2 separate regions of the Homo sapiens genome follow, and region 2 is linked to region 1. The links are contacts of gene promoters, found by promoter capture Hi-C in blood cells and fetal thymus (Javierre and others, 2016). All regions are on one chromosome and are shown on one strand. Each heading gives the region's core, a stretch centred on a gene start or on the middle of the fragment in contact. The rest is flanking DNA. Distances are from core to core; before and after follow the strand shown.

The links. The method cuts DNA at HindIII sites, captures the fragments that hold promoters and counts their contacts. A CHiCAGO score of 5 or more calls a contact.
Region 2: a fragment that was not itself captured here is called in contact with the fragment with the promoter of ACP6 in region 1 in 1 of 17 cell types (naive CD4 T cells); the score reaches 6.3 in naive CD4 T cells.

The regions. Positions count from the first base shown.
Region 1 is chr1:147,669,011-147,671,998 of GRCh38, forward strand. It overlaps ACP6 (acid phosphatase 6, lysophosphatidic), which reads right to left and starts at 1,514. Exons shown (of 10, transcript NM_016361.5): 1 at 820-1,514. The coding sequence starts at 1,038. RefSeq lists enhancers at 362-1,305, 517-576, 1,217-1,466, 1,907-1,976. The HindIII fragment of the contact is 4,251 bases long and covers 1-1,987 here.
Region 2 is chr1:148,253,342-148,256,329 of GRCh38, forward strand. No RefSeq gene overlaps it. Among named protein-coding and RNA genes, the nearest start is that of TRQ-CTG4-1, 10 kb to the right of the region's middle. The HindIII fragment of the contact is 852 bases long and covers 1,010-1,861 here.

The DNA.
Region 1 (2,988 bases), core at 264-2,763:
GGGAGTTTGGGGATTTCAGGTTGCCTGTTCCTCTTCACTAGGCCTTTCTGCTATAAAAAGTCACATCCAGGAAAGATAATCATTTTTTTTTAAACTATTTGTGCTTTAGTCATAATTATCCTGACAAAACCAGACAGATTTTTAAAACATTACTGCCACAGACTAGCCCATTTTAAATTTGTTCCGACCTCAGATCCCTCCCACTATAGGTTTAGTAACCTTAAATAGAAAAGGAGAACCCTAGAATACAACACTTGTTACAAAAAAAAACTTCAGGAGATCTCAAATGGCCTCCAGCAAACCCTGAGAAAAAGCAGTTATAAAGTTTGTTTCCAAAGGCAACGACCTCTTATCCACTGTAATCTCAGTTAAGAGTGGTTCCTATCACTAAAGTCCCTTCAGCCCTTCAGCTCTGACAAACCACCTTCAAAATGGTCACACAGAAGTGCACTGCACCCTTGTATTCAAGTTCACCTAGACCCTTAATAGAAATGCTGACCTGGGGCACTACTCCACACCTGCTGAATCAGAATCTGCAACGTAGCAGGATCCCCAGGCGACTCCCATGCGTCTTAAGCAGCGCTTACTGATGGCTGCGCCATCAGGGCAAAACTGGAAGTTCCGGGGCTGTCCTAACCCCAGCAGGTCCTTTGCTCAAGAGCCTGGGGAGTCACTGGCTACTGCTGTTTTCCCTTCTTCTGGACCCAACCCGAGCCCCGCTCCGCGCGAGTAAAGCTCTGAAGATGTGTGTCAGGGCGAGACTCCTGGCCTGGCACACGGTCCTCGCCCCACCAGCCCCAGCCCGGGCCGACCTCTCACCTGCTCCTCCAGCGGGAGCGGCTTGAGAGGACTCCGAGCCCCGTGTCGAAACACGACCTGCACCATTTTCAACTTCAGCAGGCTGCGGTCGACCGGACACTGGCCATCGGCCTCCTGCAGCTCGGCCAGGGCCACCCGCCGCTGGTGCAGGCAGTACGCCAGCGAGGTCAGGACGCCCACTGGGGTCCACAAGCGCATGCTGAACACACCAGTGATCATGGTGGTAGGCCCTCGCTGCCCTCCGGGTTGAGGCTGCAGGAGGCAAACACAAGTCTTCTGCGGGCGCCGGGGCTCAGCGGGCGCCCCCAAGTCCGCGGGAACCTGCGGATGCGTACATCCAGCCCTTCAGCAAGCAGGGACCGCTGTGCCTCCCGGCCCTGAGGGAGACCCCGAGTGGGAACGGGGGAGAGAACAAGAGGTGGCAGCAGCGAAGAGTCCCTGGGAGTTTTAACCCGGGTCGGGGTTGGTCGCTCCTGCTGCACACCGGGCCGGGGGAGATCGGATCCTTATCTTTTGCCCGACGAGGAACATTAAACTTGTATTTCAAGTTTGGCCTCCAGCACTCTTGAAGGAACAGGAGCCGGCCCTGAGTTCCCTGGCGGCAGCGGCTCCACCAGCAAGGACTACTCGATTCCACTTTTCTATAAGCAAGCTCCTACCCACCTCCTCACCTACTCAGGGACCCGTCCCAAGTGGACCCGCGCACAGGAGCACGGGAAAACGAGTCCTGTGGTGACACCTCGCCTGGAGACTCAGAGCTGCGGAAACTACAACTCCCACAAGGCTGCGCGTACCGCGGCTCCCAAGAAGTGGCTTGTACCCGCCCCCCTCGCCTGCGGGCCTCGCCCCTCCGGCCCAGCCAGCCGTTTTCCAGGCGTGGATGGCCCACGGACGTGCCTGGTCCGGCAGTGGAGTGGTAGTGAATCTGTCGGGCCATGGAGTTTGCCAGGCAGGAGGATCGCGAGCGCAGGAGTAGAACTGGGTGGTGGAGGGGAGTAGTTTGAGTCTAGTTTTGAATGTAGAAGACTTCCTTCCAGTCCTGGAAGCCTGGTTGCTGCAGCGAGGAGCTGAGACACCTGCCGAGTGATTGCCATTTGCGAAACACAGCACTAGGTGCTTTATATTTAGTCATTTACTACTCCCTTCTCTGTTTTTAAAAAAATTCTCAAGCTTAAGTCATTGTAATCATGTAGAACTTTCAGGTCACTGATGTGTTTACTTCCATCCAGAATACTTCTTGTGGAAAAAGCCAGGCCTTGCCTGTGGGTGTCCCAGTGATTAAGAACCTAAGAGGCGCCATGGCTCACGCCTGTAATCCCAGCACTTTGGGAGGCCGAGGCGGGTAGATCATGAGGTCAGGAGATCGAGACCATCCTGGCTAACACGGTGAAACCACGTCTCTACTAAAAATACAAAAAAAAAAAAAAAAAAAAATTAGCCAGGCGTGGTGGCGGGCACCTGTAGTCCCAGCTACTCAGGAGGCTGAGGCAGGAGAATGGCGTGAACCCGGGAGGCGGAGCTTGCAGTGAGCCGAGATCGCGCCACACGACTCCAGCTTGGGCAACAGCGCAAGACTCCGTCTACAAAAAAAAAACAAAAAAAAACCTAAGAACACAGAACAATGCCAGCCTTACCACCTGCTAGTCTGGTTTCTGTTGATATACAGGTATCCCAAGCCTGTGTTTCCAGATCTTTGCAACAGGACACAATCTGGGACCCACTATGTGTCTATCTCCAAAGATCAAACTGGGCCAGATGTAAAGACAACATACTTACAGAGCATGGCTCCTGGCCTGAGAACAAATTCTGTTCACCAAGCTGGAAGGTTCTGAGTGCTCCCCTCCCTGATGCAGGGAGGAGGGTCATTTTGGAACACTACATATTGTCACAATTTTCTCCCTAGCCCAGCCAAGGGACTCACTTTTCAGAGTCTTATTGTGTGTGCTGATGTGATTAAAAATCGAATACTGTTTGCTATGGACTCAGTTGTGTCCCCCGCCAAATTCGTACCCACTAAGTGACTGCATTTGGACATAGGACTTTTAGAAGGTGATTCTGTCAGAGGCATTTGAACCATAGTGACTCCATCTTGAATAGCGGCTGGGTAAAATGAGGCTGAGACCTACTGGGCTGCATTCCCAGGAGGTTAGGCATTCTCAGTCACAGGAT
Region 2 (2,988 bases), core at 186-2,685, 580 kb after region 1:
TCTGACCATCTGACTGTCCTCTCAAAGGCCTCCAGGGTGGCTACATAGTAGTAAGAATTTGATTGGTGAGATCAGTTTGCAGTCCAGGAAGAGACAGTCTCCGGTGTGTGTCTTTGAAGAGGTGCTTTCTCTTCAGAGAGAGAGAGAGAGAGGGCAGGTTGGTTTTTGTGCCTCACACGGTGTGTATCACACAATGGAGTTATACATATTCAGCAGGTTTGGAGAAACGCCATTTCTGAGGGGTGTTGAGCTCATGTGCAACGGGTAAACATATATGTAACGTGCACCCCATCTTCACATTGGGAAGAGATTTTAGCATTAAAATTAGATGGAAATTGGCTCTTTATGTCAAAAGGTGAACTATAGGACATGAAGTCGGTTTGTGTGCAGTCCCTGTAACATGGCTGAAACTGGCTTGAGGTCTGCAGTTGCTTATCAGGAAAGAATGGAAGGGCACTCCTCTGTCCCATCAGAGGTCTGGTGATCTGGGTTGTAAATCCAGTTGAGAATTGCTGGGAAGATTTTGACAATTTGCCTGCTAGCTCCTATTGTTAAGGAGTTTAGCAAGAGTGTGGTTTTTCTTCTAGCCACAGAAATTTAGGAAGTTGCTATGCCAGTCCAGCCCTGAATCCTTGACCCGTAGGTAACTCTTGTTTTCTTAACCTTAGAGTCTGTCTTAGTCTACAAGGTGACATCTATTTTTGTCTCTCAGACCACATTCCTCCTGGACTAGGTGCCTGGCCAGCTTTGAAATCCTCACGTTCTGACTCAGAGAAACAGATGGGCAGTAAGTGGTGAATCCTCCTGAAATCTGGACCTTCCCACTCTTTGGTTGAAGGCCTGGAGTTTGCTTGAGTTGTCCTTTCCAGCCTTCCCTTTCTACAATGGAGGTTTTCTGTCTTTACCCTCCAGTTAAGAGACTTGAGTTTCAGGGGGAAAAAACTGCCCTTTCCACCTCTGCCTCAGGACAGAAAGTTTGGGTCACAGTCAGGCAAAGGACTGTGTGGAAAGCTTCTGCCTTTTCTGCCTCTGTCCCTCATCAGGAAGGTCTGGGTCAAGATATTGGCAGGTAGGCACCGGTGGTTTTGTTTTCTGTAGCATGCTTTTATGAAAGTTTGAACTTAGGTTTTCACTTGTGACTAATTCTTGTTAGTTTTTTTTTTTTTCCTTGAGATGGAGTTTTGCTCTTGTTGCCCAGGGTGGAGTGCAATGGCGGGATCTCGGCTCACCGCAACCTCCGCCTCCTAGGTTCAAGTGATTCTCCTGCCTCAGCCTCCCAAGTAGCTGGTTTTACAAACGTGCCACCACGCCCAACTAATTTTGTGTTTTTAGTAGATACAGGGTTTCTCCATGTTGTTCAGGCTGGTCTCAAACTCCTGACCTCAGGTGATCTGCCCACCTCGGCCTCCCAAAGGGCTGAGATTACAGGCGTAAGCCAATGTGCCCGGCCCCTGTTAGTTCTTACCTGGAAAATGCACGGAGGTACTTTCTCCAGCCCTGAAGAAAAGAAGTGATCTGCTCCCGATGACCCTTTCAGGGGCTACAAGTGACCAGGGACGCTGCAGAGGTGTCACGGTCACTACTCACCATGTGAAGGCGGCCTCGTAGAGCATTCCCCATCAGAAGAACGTCTTTATGAATCCCCTTTCCTGCTCTTATGGGAGGGTATATGAGCGATGGGTCCCCCAGAGCAGATGCACTCTGTGGCCACCTGGTGGTTAGAAACAGTGGGAGCCACTGAGACAGTGATACACAACTCCGGTGATATCTGTAGGAGTGACTACATAAGCAGGACACTGTGACCCAAAACACATCCCAGATTTTGGTCATCTTTGCAAAGCTCCTGAATTATGGGAAATCAAGCTTCAAAATCTGAGCATACTTTGAAGAAACAACCGCGTTTAGAACCACCAGCTGAGTTTCTGTATAACAGTTATGAAGCATCCTCTTGTAAATATCCAAGAAACCTGACCCACCTAACCAGAAAAACTCATAAGTAGAATGGAGAAAATGGGGATCTTTTGAAATGACTAAAATAATTTATTAGGGCACACAATTGGAAAAATTTGGTTTTAGAATCAGGCAAATTGAATGGGAGACTTACTTCCAATGATACCTAGAAATTTCTAAAAGAACTACTGAGAAAATTGCCTCCATTGAGGATTTAAACTGGGGATATCTGATGCTTTTTCTGAATTGAGAAATATTGAGGAGGCTTTGTCTCTTTCGCCTCCAACTGCTCCTTTTCCTCCTGCCCCTGCACCTGCATAGTCTCCCTTACCTGAGCCCTCCTGTCCTGCCTTGCCTCTTCTTCCATCACCATCACCTGAGGAAAGTCCCCAGGGCTCTGGCCCCTTCCCTGAAAGTTCTGTTCTGGCAGCCCCTTTCAAGGTAAAACCCACAGGAAGAGGGGAGCCTGCTATTGTGTATACTGCTTCACCATAATGTGAATTAAGAATATTGTAAAAGACTTCCCTTTTCTAAATTGAAATACATTTTCCTCTTCTCTTTCTAAAGCAGGCTCTGCTTTAGATTTAGAAGTAGATTGGAGGAGAATTTAGCAATGCACTTAAAAGGCCAAATAAATCTGTCATTGATATTTTAAATGGTTGAAAATAATTTATTTATTTATTTATTGAAACAGGTTCTCACTCTGTCACCCACGCTGGAGTGCAGTGGCTCCATCATGGCCCACCACAGCCTCAAACTTCTGGGCTCTAGCAATCCCCCCACCTCAGCCTCCGAGTAGATGAGGCCACAGGTGCATGCCACCACACCTGGCTAATTCTTCAACTTTTTATAGAGAGGAGGTCTCACTTTGGTTTCCAGGCTGGTCTTGAACTCCTGGGCTCAGTCAATCCTCCCGCGTCAGCCTAATATTTACACTGACCACGGAGATGCATTTGGAGAAGGTGGTGATTTTGGAATGCTTTAGAAGCAACCTAGGTTTCTTATTTCACCAGGTCAACCCATCAAAAATGACCAATA